Linked DNA regions of Homo sapiens: all the other regions are linked to region 1. Evidence: promoter capture Hi-C in 16 types of primary human blood cells and fetal thymus (Javierre and others, 2016). All regions are on one chromosome and are shown on one strand. Each heading gives the region's core, a stretch centred on a gene start or on the middle of the fragment in contact. The rest is flanking DNA. Distances are from core to core; before and after follow the strand shown. Region 1 holds the start of GSPT1 (G1 to S phase transition 1). Region 2 overlaps LOC105371082 (a long non-coding RNA gene). Region 3 overlaps LOC105371082 (a long non-coding RNA gene). Region 4 overlaps RMI2 (RecQ mediated genome instability 2).

Region 1 (3,132 bases), core at 36-2,535:
GACACAAATCAATATAGTCTCCTATCACACATTAAGTGAGGAATCCTAACTTTGTGGCACTTTGTAAACTTTAGAAGCGTACACAATGCTAAGGGTAAAACAGATCTTGGTATTGATAGCCAAGTTTCTGCCCGATCACAAGGCTGCAATGCATCTTGGGATTCCTTCAGGACGGTTGGGGGCCACGGACAGTTTAAACCGTAATTACAGTTTCAATAGTAGAAAACGCAGCAGAAGACGCTCTCTCGGCTGGGCCTAAGGTGAAAGGAAAACTCGGCCATTCGTCCTCCCCAACTCCTGGGATCTCTAAACGCCCACCCAAATGACTCCTGGCTCCATCTGTCCTCATTCTGCGCCTCGTGGCAGGGATCCGCCGCGGCCCCCACTCCGTTCCATACGGTTCCCATCTCAAGTGGGTAACTGCGGACTCCAGAGCAGGGCAGGGGCGCGGAGGGGCGGCACTCGGGTCCGGGTCTTTGGGCGCGCTGCCCGCTGTCCGCTCCCCGCCCGGCCACCGCCGCGGGCCGCCCCGCGAAGGCCGGCTCCCGGGCTCGGGGCGCCCCACCCAGGCAGACGGCGCCACTGTCAGCGCCCCACGTGCCGACCGGGCCCCAGGGCCGCGCGCCCCCGGACCGCACCCCTACGCCATGTGGGCTCCGGCGCCCGGCCGGACTTCCTCCCGCGTCCCGGGCCTTTACCCGCACGGCCTCCCGCGCCGCTGCCGGCTCCGTGGTTATTGGCGGCGCCGCCAACTGGGGGTGGCGGCGCTGCCGGGCCCCGCAGGAAGGACGGCACGAACTCGGCGGCGTGGACGTTGGGCACGAAGGGCTTGGCGTTGACGTTGAGTTGCCGGCTGAAGGCCGCGCTGAGGTTCTCCCGCTGGGCCTCGGCCGCCGCCGCCAGGGAGCCGCCGCCGCCGCAAGGGCCCGGCCCGGGGGCTTCCATGTCCGCCTGGTCCCAGCAGTCAGGCGCCGAGTCGCTGCTGCTGCTGCCGCTGCTGCTCCCGCCGCCGCCGCCGCCGCCGCCGCCGCCGCCACTGCCCGGATCCATGATCGGGGGGGCCGTGTGTGTGGTGGACAGAGAGCGGGAAATGGAGGCAGGGGCGCCCGGCCGGAGAGGAGTGGGCAACGCTGACTGAGGGAAGGCGGCGGGGCAGAAGGGCCGGGAGCTAGCGACAAAGATCCCCGGCGTCGCCGCGGCAGCAGCTCCAGTCCCGACTCCACACTCGCGACGACGACAGAGGCGGCGGCGGCGGCAGCTCAACCCTCCTCCTCGTGTGTGTGAGCGGATCTCCTCCCACCCAACCACCTCCGACGGCCTCACAGCCAACCCCACCCCCGGCGCGGATTGACCCCTCGCCGCCACCCGTACCTTCGCCTCGGTAGTTCTCTGTTCTGGCCGCCCCCGTTTCCGGCTATTTAGCGCGGCGGGAGGTGGAACTACAAGTTCCGGCAGCGCCCGCGCTACCCCGCTGCGGTTTTCCCGGGGGCCGACGGGAGTCGAAGTTCAGGGACAGGGCGCAACCGGAAGCGGCTCCGGCTCCCGGCAGGCAACGCGAGGAGGCGGAGGTCTGGTGGCCGCTCGGCGGCCCCACCTGTCACCTGGTGGGGGGGCAGCGGCAGGCCCTGGTTGGTGCAGCTCTGTGCTGGGCCGAAGACCGAGAGTATTTTAGCCCATAGGAGGGGTCCACTCTGGCCTGCTGGACACAGGCTGGGGGAAAACGGACAGCATCTATAACATGGGGAAGAAAAATACACTCAGCTCCCGAAAATTCTTGTACTCTCTTTTCACCACCTTTCCTGCGTTCTCTGCCTCACAGTCTCCGTACCTTATTCTCTCTCCACCTTCTTTCTCCTCACCCCCAGCCAGATTTTGCCCTTCATTTCAAAGCCGGTGCAGATTGCAAAGCTGATTTCATTTTATGTAATCATTTCGTGGAAGAAACAATAAAACCGTGAGATATTCCGGCTTAAAACTGCAGTGTGGCTCATAAAGCGCTGGGGCCCAGGCTCTGCCCAGGCAGAAGGGATTGTTAACTGGAAAATTTCAATGACTCACCGTTTGTTTGACTAGTCATATAAAGCCTTCACCCAAATTTTTCCATCCTTTCCTCCTCCCCGCCAAAGGGTTTGCAAATTAAACAGAGGATTGCCGTATTCCATGGTGTATCCGGCTTACCTAACAGGGTTATTTTGGTGAGTCTAGCTTCCTTATGCACCATTACGTGAAGTGGTTTCCTTTTGAATGGTCTGATTTGCTCAAGAATTCCCATAGTACTTTTCATCGACTGCATCTTACACTTACAGATTAGGTAAACCTGGGAAAAGAACAAAAGCAAACGAGAAATACTTAAGAGTTCGCATTTAGGCCCTTCATGAAGTAGGAAAAAATGTTGCTCTGAGTACCTGTTAAGCTTTCCTGTAATTCACCCATGTGGAGCCCAAGACAGAGAAAAACATATTGTTAGTATTTTTCTGAAAGGAGTCTAGACAGGGTGCAACTAATCTGCCTAGAAATTACAGACTAAAGAAGCACATACATAGAATAGATGTTTCTGAACAACCTTAGGTTGTTAAAAAAAAAAAAAACCTAACAAAATCCAGATCTAGATCTGTATTTTAATTTTCTTTTTTCTTTTTTTTGAGACGGAGTCTTGCTCTGTAGCCCAGGCTGGAGTGCAGTGGCGCGATGTCGGCTCGCTGCAAGCCCGCCTCCCGGGTTCACAACATTCTCCTGCCTCAGTCTCCGGAGTAGCTGGGACTAGAGGCGCCCGCCATCACGCCCGGCTAATTTTTTTTGTATTGTTATTAGAGACGAGGTTTACACCGTGTTAGACAGGATGGTCTGGATCTCCTGACCTCGTGATCCGCTCGTCTCGGCCTCCCAAAGTGCTGGGATTACAGGCGTGAGCCACCGCGCCCGGCCGATCTGTATTTTAATTTTAAACATCTGTATTGTAAAGATAAAAGAGAACTCAGCCTAATGAGATAGGTCAAAAACGAAGCTGTCAAGTATTTTTCAAAAGAGTCCTAGGCTACAGTAATTTGAATTTAATATTAAACTACCAAGCTTTAGGGATTAAAAAAACACATACCGGCCAGGCGCAGTGGCTCACACCTGTAATCTCAGCAA
Region 2 (3,285 bases), core at 495-2,994, 550 kb before region 1:
TACAGGTGCCCACTACCTGTGACACCCAGCTAATTTTTTTTGGACTTTTAGTAGAGATGGGGTTTCACCATGTTGGCTAGGCTCGTCTCGAACTCCTGACCTCAGGTTATCCACCTGCCTTGGCCTACCAAAGTGCTGGGATTACAGGCGTGAGCCACTGTGTCCAGCCCCATAAGGTAGATTTATATTCACCTTTTAAGAAACCGCCAAACTGTGTTTTGGAGTTGCCATGCCGCCACGTTCCCCCCAGCATGTGTGGAGCCTCCATTTCCACACACCCCCTCTTGATATTGATGTGACATCTTTTTAATGTTGAACGTTTCTCGATAACACATGCAGCATGGCCTTCTTTGCATTCAAAGTGTTTCATATCCCTCAGCAGCATTTGAAAGATTTCTTCATATGGATTGTGTGTGTATATTTTTGCACATTTATTTCTGAGAATTTTGTTTTTTGGGAGTGTGCTGTTGCAAATGGGATGTTTTCTTCTGTTAACTTTTCTAACTGCTTGTTTGTACATAGGAGGACTGAGGCCAGCCTTGGTGGCTCACATCTATAATCCTAGCACTTAGGGAGACTGAGGCAGAAGGACTGCTCGAGCCCAGGAGTTTGAGACCAGCCTGGGCATCATAGTAAGACCGCATCTTTATGTTATTTTTTTTTTGAGACAGGGTCTTTCTTTGTCACCCAGGCTAAGTGCAGTAATGCAGTCCCGGTTCACTGCAACCTCCATGTCCTGGGTTCAAGCAATTCTCATGCCTCAGCCTTCTGAGTACCCGGTATTACAGGTGTGTGCCATCACACCCAGCTAATTTTTGTATTATTAGTAGAGGTGGAGTTTTGCCATGTTGGCCAGGCTGGTACCGAACTCCTGGCCTCGAGCAATCCGCCTCTCTCGGCCTCCCAAAGTGCTGGGATTACAGGCGTGAGCTGTGCCCGGCCCCATCTCTATATTTTAAAAATTAAGAAAAAGGAAGGCTGCTTATTATGTTACTTTTGTACCTAACTCCTTAGCAAAATCTGTCTGCCTCATTTTTCAGAGTAAATTATTTTACCTCCTGCTTTTTTCTTAAATGTCTTACTTTCCTCCTTGCCTAGTTTCATCAGCTAGGGCCTCCAAAATAATAGTGGTAACAGAGGGCATTCTTTTGTTGCGAAGGTTAATGGAAGCTTCTGTTGCTTCCATCCCCTATAAATGATGCTGGGCTCTGGCTTGATGGGTGTGTGTCTGGGTGTAATTTCCTTTATCGTGTGTAATTTAAGGAAGTATCCCTCTTTCTAATTTGATGTGTTTTTTTCTAAATTTTGTAGTAAATTTTGTCAAATGCCTTTTCAACATCTACGATGATTATGATTTTTAACATATTAATATGAATGAAATTAGGCTGGGCGCAGTGGCTCACACCTGTAATCCCAGCACTTTGGGAGGCTGAGGCAGGCAGATCACAAGGTCAGGAGGTCAAGACCATCCTGGCTAACATGGTGAAACCCCATCTCTTCTAAAAATACAAAAAAGCTAGTCAGGTGTGGTGGCGGACGCCTGTAGTCCCGGGAGGGTGAGGCAGGAGAACTGAGTGAACCCAGGAAGCGGAGCTTGCAGTGAGCCTAGATCGCACCACTGCACTCCAGCCTGGGCAATAGAGCGAGACTCCATCTCAGGAAAAAAAAAAAAAAAAAAAAAATATGTGTGTATATATATATATATATATATATATATATATATATTTGAAATTAAAAGATGTTCTAATTTTGAGCTATCCTTGTCACACTGTACAATTCTCACTTGGTTTAGGTCACTTTTTTTTTAAGGCCCCAGTGGGGTTTGTTTGGTAATATTTTATTTTGGATTTTCTTACCTTGATTTGTATGTAAACATCTTACCTTGTTTTGTTTTGGAGATAGGGCCTTGCTCTGATGCCCAGGCTGGAGTGCAGTGGTGTGATCATAGTTGATTGTGATTTTGAACTCCTGGGCTCAAGTGATCCTCCTGCCTCAGCCTCCTAGACAGGCATGTGCCACCATGCCTGGCTAATGATTAAATTTTTTTAGAGACAGAGTCTTGCTATGTTGTCCAGGCTGGAGTTCAGTGTATATTGTAGACGTGAATTGGTCTTTCCGCTGGAATCATTCCCTCTCCTATCTGTTTCAAATTCATGCATAAGTACTCCACCCACACCCCCCAGTTGGAAAGTATTGATGTTGTCCAACCTGCCTTGAGAAGGGAGAACTATGTTTCCCTCTTTGTATCTCTGCTGGTGTCCAGTCCACTGCTGTGTTTTTGGTAAATACTTGACCCATAGAATGTGGGAGGCAGGAAGGAAAGCTTCTGCGTTTCCTTTCTGGACCAGAAATCATGGATCCGTTAAGCATATTGAGAAACCAACAGGTCAGGTGGCTGCACACTCTAGTTGCATCTGACTCTGAATTGCTCATGGGCCCCTGAGCACCAGTGATTTGCTTTTCTTTTATTGCAAAAGCAGAAGTGGGGGTTGAGTGAGCTTGGGCAGCCTTGGGAGGCAGGCAGGCCCGCGTCAGTGCCATCCTGGCTGTTTGTAGCTTGTATGACCTTGGGGAAATCCCCTCAACTCTCTGAGCCTTTGTTTCTTCTCTCATTAAGTGGGGATCATCCGTTCCTCATTGGACTATTGTAAGGCCTAAGATCAAACTTTTTTTTTTTTTTTTTTTTTGAGATGGAGCCTTCGCTCTGTCGCCCAGGCTACAGTGCAGTGGCACGATCTCCGCTCACTGCAAGCTCCACCTCCCGTGTTCACGCCATTCTCCTGCCCCAACCTCCCAAGTAGCTGGGACTACAGGAGCCCGCCACCTCACTCGGCTAATTTTTTGTATGTTTAGTAGAGACGGGGTTTCACCGTGTTAGCCAAGATGGTCTCGATTTGCTGACCTCATGATCCACCCACCTTGGCCTCCCAAAGTGCTGGGATTACAGGCGTGACCCACTGTGCCCGACCCAAACTTTTTTTTTTTTTTTTTGAGACGGAGTCTCACTCTGTCGCCAGGCTGGAGTGCAGTGGTGTGATCTTGGCTCACTGCAGTCTCCGCCTCCTGGGTTCAAGCAGTTCTCTGCCTCAGCCTCCTGGGTAGCTGGGATTACAGGCGCCAGCCACCATGCCCGGATTTTTTTTTTTTTTTTTTTTTTTTCCAGTAGAGATGAGGTTTCACCGTGTTGGCCAGGCTGGTCTTGAATTCCTGACCTCATGATCCACCCGCCTCGGCCTCCCAAAGTGCTGGGATTACAGGCGTGAGCCACTGCACCCAGCCCCCAGA
Region 3 (3,227 bases), core at 721-3,220, 650 kb before region 1:
GTGGCGAGAACAGCCAGTGCAAAGGCCCTGTGGTGGGGGTGCTTGAAGATAGGAAAGGAGAGTTGGTATAGCGAGCCAGGGGGTGGTGTAGGGGTGAGGCATAGGGGTTGGCAGGGTCTGATCCATCAGGCACGGCCTTGCTGGGCTGTGGCAGGGCTTTGGATTTTGCCCTGAGTGCATGGACCAGCCATCCAGGCCCAAGCGACAGCATAGGACTGAGTGTGGAAAGAACCTTCTAGCTGCTGACCTTCCCAGCTGCTGGGCTTTAGCCACGATGAGCTGTAGTAGTGGCCTTGGGACACTTTCCCATGGTCCTGTGAATTGGAAATTATGTGTTTCCCTTGATCAGATGAGGAGAGCACAACTCAGGGAACTGGTGGAACTTGGTGAAGGTGTTTTGGGGAGCCCTGGGGCTTGGCAGAACCTGGCCTGAAGTCCTCTGTCGGGAGAGGTTGCTTTGATGTTTGGAGTAGATCCTTTCTGCTCCCACCACAGGAACGATTGTGTGTCTCAGTGGCGGGTAGAGGGGTGTGAGCTCAGAGGACCTGAGTCCAAGGAGAAGGTGTGAGAGGCCAGGGAACGATGGCATGAGCCAGTGGCTGACTCCAAAGTGGCGCCAGTCCTGGAGACTTGATGAGACTCTTCTAGCAGGCACAGGTGAAGAAAGGAGAGGTGAAGTCAGCTGTTACTTGAAGTAGTCAGTAGTCACTGGCTTTCAGAAAGCAGTCAAGATTGTTTCGTTAACAGCTGCAAAATAGGAGGGGCAGGAAAGTAGAATTCTAGGAATGCTGGTGGAGGGGTCCAGACACACCTGCTTCCAGTCCCAGCTCCCCTCCCCATCAGCTGTGTGGCTTCAGGCAAGTTGACTGAATCCAGTGGTCCAGAGAACTCTCACAAAGCCCGAGCCTGGGAAGCACAGTGCCTGTTCCTCAGTAAATCCCTTGGGATCTTTGTCGTGGCCTATTCACTCCATTTTTGCACAGTATTCCAACAAGCCTAACAGGTTTCTACCCACCCCACCCCATCCCATAAGTGACAAATTAGGTGTCAGCAGCTGACAGCAAGGACCAGTAGCGGTGACATAGGGGGCAAAGAACTTGCAGAAACTATGAAACTAGGCACAAGAGCTAGCACGCAGCAGGCTGGGGACGTTAGAGTGTGGAGCAGGAAGATTCCTCATGTCCATGGGCCCTCACTGTGGTGATGCTGTTGAGAATGTCGGGTATCGCAATGAGAGGTAGAATAGGGCCCAGTTCTCTCTGAGGAGGCGTCTGGTCTCAGGGCACACAGAGCAGCAGCAGTCTCCTCCCATGCCACGATGTGGGAAGCCCAGCGTCTACTGGCCCAATTGGCAGTGCCCTGAACAGGCTCAGGGAGGGGTAACCCTCAACCGAGTTGTAAAGAGTGAGCATCACGGCCGGGCGCAGTGGCTCACGCCTGTAATCCCAGCACTTTGGGAGGCGGAGGCAGGCAGATCACGAGGTCAGGAGATGGAGACCATCCTGGCTAACACGGTGAAACGCCGTCTCTACTAAAAATACAAAAAATTAGCCGGGCGTGGTGGTGGGCGCCTGTAGTCCCAGCTACTTGGGAGGCTGAGGCCGGAGAATGGCGTGAACCCAGGAGGCGGAGCTTGCAGTGAGCAGAGATGGCGCCACTGCACTGCAGCCTGGGCGACAGAGCAAGACTCCATCTCAAAAAAAAAAAGAGTGAGCATCACTTGAGTTCAGGAGTTCAAGACCAGCCTGGGCAGCATGACAAAACCCCATCTCTACAAAAATATGAAAAAATTAGTTGGGCATGGTGACACATACCTGTGGTCCCTGCTACTTGGGAGCCTCAGGTGGGAGGATCACTTGAGCTCGGAAGACAGAGATGGCAGTGAGCTGAGATCACACCACTGCACTCCAGCCCGGGTGACTTAGGGAGACCCTGTCTCAAAAAAAAAAAAAAAAAAAAAAAAAAAAAAAAGAGCTCTCACCAAGGGAACGGAGGGAGAACATATTCCGGGCAGAGCATGACAAGAATGTGAGGCCCTGGGCAGAGCATGAGGCCAAAGGTAAGCCGGACACCCCAAGGCAGCCCTAGTGGCTTCTAGGAGGAGACTCGTCTGGAGGAAGGGAGAGGGCTGGACTGGACCTCTGCCTGCCCTGGAGTAATGAGTCCCTCTGTGGGAGAGCGTTCTGGGTCACCTTGCCCAAACCAGCAAGCCCAGAGCAGGGGCTGATGTTATATCCACATGCCTTTACTGCCTCTCCAGATTCAACAGAGCTTCGCTGAGCACCCATTAGACACATTCACTGATGCTCATTCCTTTTTTATCCTCTTTTTCCTTCAATTTTCCTCCCTCTAGGTAACCCAGGCACCAGCTTGGTCTGTTCTTTGGGATCTTTTTTATTTTTATTTTTATTTTTTGATACTGGGTCTCCCTCTGTCACTCAGGCTGGGGTGCAGTGGCGTGAACACAGCTCACTGCAGCCTTGACACCCCCACCCCACCCCCACTGTGCTCAAGCAATCCTCCTGACTCAGCTTCCCATGTAGGTGGCACGCATTGCCATGCCCAGCTAATTTTTTCATTTTTAGGGAGACAGAGTCTCACTTTGTTTCCTAGGCTGGTCTCAAACTCCTGGCTTCAAGTGATCCTCCCGCGTGGGCCTCGCAAAGCGCTGAGATTATAGGCATAAGCCACTGCTCCCACCCTGGGATCTTTTTCTATGCATCTACATGCTTGTATTTTGACCCATAAAAATTATGTTCCTTGGCCAGGTGTGGTGGCTCATGCCTGTAATCCTAGCGCTTTGGGAGGTCGAGCTGGGAGGATCACTTGTGGTCAGTTCGAGGCTGTGGTGAGCTATGATTGTGCCACTGCACTCCAGCCGAGGTGACAGAGCAAGACCCCAATTATTTAAAAAAAAAAAATAGTATTCCTTTGTGTAGGACTTTTCCCTCTATCAATGTCATGTCTTTCTCCATCTTGCACTTTCCACCCAACAGATACTCTGGCAATCTGGCTAGATCACATATAGATCGACCCCATGCTCCTTAAGAACTGCATGATACTCCTCAGCGTATGTTCATTTAGCCGTCCCCGGTGGGTGGACACATAGGTTGTATTTTTGCTCTTGCAAACAGCGTGGCCTGCACCTCCCTGTACAGCCTCTTGGCACACATGTGATAAACCGTTCTTACCGTTTGAATGTTCATAGGTGCCACCCAGTCACCTGC
Region 4 (3,562 bases), core at 1-2,500, 560 kb before region 1:
TCAGAGAGCCTTGCTTTGGTTGACCAAGGAGTCCGGATGTAGGAATGTTTAAATCCTCGGATACTTCAGTGACACAGCCTCTGCTGCCCCTTGCTTTGCCTGTGTTTGCTGATGAAAAGCAGATGCTTGTGTTTCATTTTCCTTCCTGGTTTGTGTGTGTTAATTCTCTCTCTCTCTCTCAGACACAGAAGTCTCATGTTGCATTTTCCAAATTTTATGAGTGATGATACTTTTTCCATTACTGCTGCGTCCCTGTTTTACAATGCAAAATTTAAGTACGGTCGTTGCCCATGGTGATTAAAGTGTGGTTATGGGCAGGAAGACAGACTGTGTAAAAAAGGAATGACATCCTGGCTCCTCATCTTCTTCATCAGCAACTACCATAACCAGTTTGCGAGTCAAATGGCATTTCCTAACGGCAGGCATGGCGGCCCCTGAAAGACAACAGCTCCCTTTCTGCTTCGGACACCACTCAAACATTTAGACGCAGCTCTATCCCTTTTCCTAGCTAGAGAAGGTGATGCCTTCTTCCATTACTCAGAGATGTTGAGACGTTTTCAGAATTTCTTGTTGAAATGAAAAACATCAAGATAAAGGACGCCTTTCAGGCATTAGCTAAACTTCCACTTCATAACTTTCGGCGAGACATGGTGAGCCTCCTGGTGTAGAGTTCTTTTGTCTTTGTATGGAATGACTTTTTGCTGTGATGGTTTTGAATGTTGGGTTTCTGCTGTCTGCTTAGTACCCATGCCTGAATTTTTTGAGATTGTAAATATCAAAGGAGTTAGATTGTGTTCTGACATGGTTGTAGACTTTCACCTGGATTATTGATATTCTACCTCTAATAAATTTTTAATAGGCTGTATGAGTTTTTTTTTTTAATGGACTTAAGAAAACAGTTTTAGGTGTTCAGGAAAATAGAGGAGAAACTACAGCGTTCGCATATACTCCACACACCCCACTCCCAGTTTTTCCAGCTATGAACATCTTTTATTAGGATGGTACATTTGATAAACCAACATTACATTCTTATTAACTAAAGTTTAGTTTACATTAGGCTTTATTCCTTCTCTTATACATTCTGTGGATTTTGCCAAATGCATAATAACATGTATCCACCACTACAGTATCGTCCAGAATAGCTTCACTGCCCTAAAAATCCTCTGGGTTCCCCTTATTCACCCCTCCCCACCAACCCTGACAGTCACTGATCTTTCTTTTCAGTTTTGCCTTTTCCAGAATATCATATAGTTGGATCATACAGTAAGTAATTTTTTCAGACTGGCTTCTTTCATTTACTATGCATATAAGATTCCTCCATATCTTTTTTTTTTTTTCTTTTTTAAGACAATCTCAGTCTTGCCCAGGCTGGAGTGCAAGGGCACAATCACAGCTCACCACAGCCTCAACCTCTCAGGCTCAGGATCCTCCCATCTCAGCCTCTCAGGTAGCAGGACTACAGGTGCGCATCACCTTGCCTGGTTAATTTTTTTGTATTTTTTGTAGAGACAAGGTTTTGCCATGTTGCCCAGGCTGGTCTCAAACTCCTGGGCTCAAGCAATCTTCCCATCTTGGCCTCCCAAAGTGCTGGGATTACAGGTGTGAGCCATTGTGTCTGGACTCCTCCAGGTCTTTTTGCAGCTTGTTAGCTTTTTTTTTTTTTTTTTTTTTTCAATAAATGCCCGTGCTTATTACAAGATAGAAACATGAAGAATTCCTTAGGTACTGTTTTTTTTTTTTTTTTTTTTTTTGAGACAGAGTCTAACCCTGTCACCCAGGCTGGAGTGCAGTGGTGTGATCTCTGCTCACTGCAACCTCTGCCTCCCGGGTTCAAGCGATTCTCCCGCCTCAGCCTCCTGAGTAGCTGGGATTACAGATGTGTGCCACCACACCCAGCTAATTTATTTATTTATTTATTTTGAGTTTTTTATTTTTGTTTGTTTGTTTAAGATGGGGCCTTGCCCTGTCACCCAGGCTGGCGTACAGTGGCGTGAACGTGGCTTACTGCAGCCTCAACCTCCCAAACTCAAGCAATCCTCCCATGTCATCCTCCTGAGTAGCTGGTACTACAGGCACAAATTCCTCGGCTCAAGCAATCCTCCCACCTTGGCCTCCCAAAGTGCTGGGATTACAGGTATGAGCCACCACGCCCAGCCAGCTCATTTCTTTTTATCACTGAATAATGTTCCATTGTATGGATGTACCATAGTTTTATCTAATCCACCTATTGAAGGACATCTTGACTCCAGTCTCTGATAACTATGAATAGAGCTGCTGTAAACATTCATGCCCAGGTTTTGAGTGGGTGTAAGTTTTCAGCTCATTGGGGTAAATGCCTAGGAGTGCAATTGCTGGGCCATATGGTAGACCTATGGTTAGCCTTGTAGAAACTGCCAGTCTGCTTTTGCATTCTCACCAGCAATGAAGGGGAGTCACTGTTCCACATCGTCTCCAGCACTGAGTGTTGTCAGTGTCTCGGGTGTGCTGTGCTTTTAAACTATTTTCTTTTTAAAGCCGGGCAGATTGGAAAGTATGCATCATTTTTGTTGCCCACAAGAAGCTTGTTTTGAACTGTTTTATGTTCACAGTTTGGGATTTTTCGGGCAATATTGCTGAGCTTTAACAGGAACTTTGCAGTCCTGTCAACCTGAATTTGAGCCCTTCATTTGCAAGTAACCTTGCCGTGTGACTATGAGCAAGGTACGTAACCTCTCCATTGTTCAGTTTCTTTATCTGTAAAATGCAGATTATGCCCAGCTCATAGCACTGGTGTGAGGAATAAATGAAGATGTAGATCACTTTTACATGGTATGTGACACTTGGTAGGCACCAAATCATTATTGCTGGGAGGATCAGTATGTTCTTGCTTGTCTACACACACACATACACACACACACACACGAGAGAGAGAGAGAGAGAAATTGCAAAGATAGTACAAAGAGTTCCCATATACCTGTACCCAGCTTCCCCTATTATTAACATGTTAGTATAGTGCATTTGTTAAAATTCATGAACCAATATTGAGATGTTATTAACCCAAGTCTGTACTTCATTCAGATTTCTCTGGGTTTTTCCTAATGTTCTTTCCTGTTCCAGGGTCCCATCCGGGACACCACATTCCATTTCGTCATCATGTCTCCCTAGGTGCTCTCCCTGGCTGGGTCGTTCAATCAGTTGCTTTTAATTGCATTTAAATTTAATTTTGGTGCAGACAGTGAGATCTGTTACAGAATTCTTAGGTTAAAACTTAGTCACAATGGCTGGGTGCAGTGGCTCACGCCTGTAATTGAAACACTTTGAGAGGTCGAGGCAGGCTGATCACTGGAGGCCAGGTGTTCAAGACCAGCTTGGGCAACATAGTCCCCCGTCTCTACTAAAAACACAAAAAAATTAGCCAGGCATGGTGGCACGCACCTGTAATCCCAGCTACTCTGGAGGCCGAAGCATGAGAATCTCTGGAACCTGGGAGGCGGAGGTTTCAGTGAGCCAAGATCATGCCACTGCACTCCATTCTGGACGACAGAGCCAGACTCTGTCTCAAAAACAAAAAACAAAAAAAGCA

Evidence for each region. The method cuts DNA at HindIII sites, captures the fragments that hold promoters and counts their contacts. A CHiCAGO score of 5 or more calls a contact.
Region 2: a contact is called between a fragment that was not itself captured here and the fragment with the promoter of GSPT1 in region 1, in 1 of 17 cell types (neutrophils). The highest score is 5.4, in neutrophils.
Region 3: a contact is called between a fragment that was not itself captured here and the fragment with the promoter of GSPT1 in region 1, in 2 of 17 cell types (neutrophils and naive CD4 T cells). The highest score is 5.9, in neutrophils.
Region 4: a fragment that was not itself captured here is called in contact with the fragment with the promoter of GSPT1 in region 1 in 4 of 17 cell types (neutrophils, naive CD4 T cells, total CD4 T cells and 1 more); the score reaches 7.3 in neutrophils.

The regions. Positions count from the first base shown.
Region 1 is chr16:11,914,671-11,917,802 of GRCh38, forward strand. It overlaps GSPT1 (G1 to S phase transition 1), which reads right to left and starts at 1,286. Exons shown (of 15, transcript NM_002094.4): 1 at 699-1,286. The coding sequence starts at 1,050. RefSeq lists silencers at 416-465, 506-745, 836-905, 1,616-1,675 and enhancers at 730-1,667, 1,276-1,425, 2,726-3,132. The HindIII fragment of the contact is 2,427 bases long and covers 1-2,411 here.
Region 2 is chr16:11,368,289-11,371,573 of GRCh38, forward strand. All of the region lies in intron 1 of LOC105371082 (a long non-coding RNA gene), which reads left to right. Among named protein-coding and RNA genes, the nearest start is that of RMI2, 24 kb to the left of the region's middle. RefSeq lists enhancers at 2,192-2,251, 2,437-2,937. The HindIII fragment of the contact is 1,153 bases long and covers 1,169-2,321 here.
Region 3 is chr16:11,259,951-11,263,177 of GRCh38, forward strand. All of the region lies in intron 1 of LOC105371082 (a long non-coding RNA gene), which reads left to right. Among named protein-coding and RNA genes, the nearest start is that of SOCS1, 5.4 kb to the left of the region's middle. The HindIII fragment of the contact is 6,308 bases long and covers 1-3,227 here.
Region 4 is chr16:11,350,900-11,354,461 of GRCh38, forward strand. It overlaps RMI2 (RecQ mediated genome instability 2), which reads left to right. Exons shown (of 2, transcript NM_152308.3): 2 at 1-861. All of the region lies in intron 1 of LOC105371082 (a long non-coding RNA gene), which reads left to right. Among named protein-coding and RNA genes, the nearest start is that of RMI2, 7.2 kb to the left of the region's middle. RefSeq lists an enhancer at 3,352-3,562. The HindIII fragment of the contact is 2,616 bases long and covers 1-2,558 here.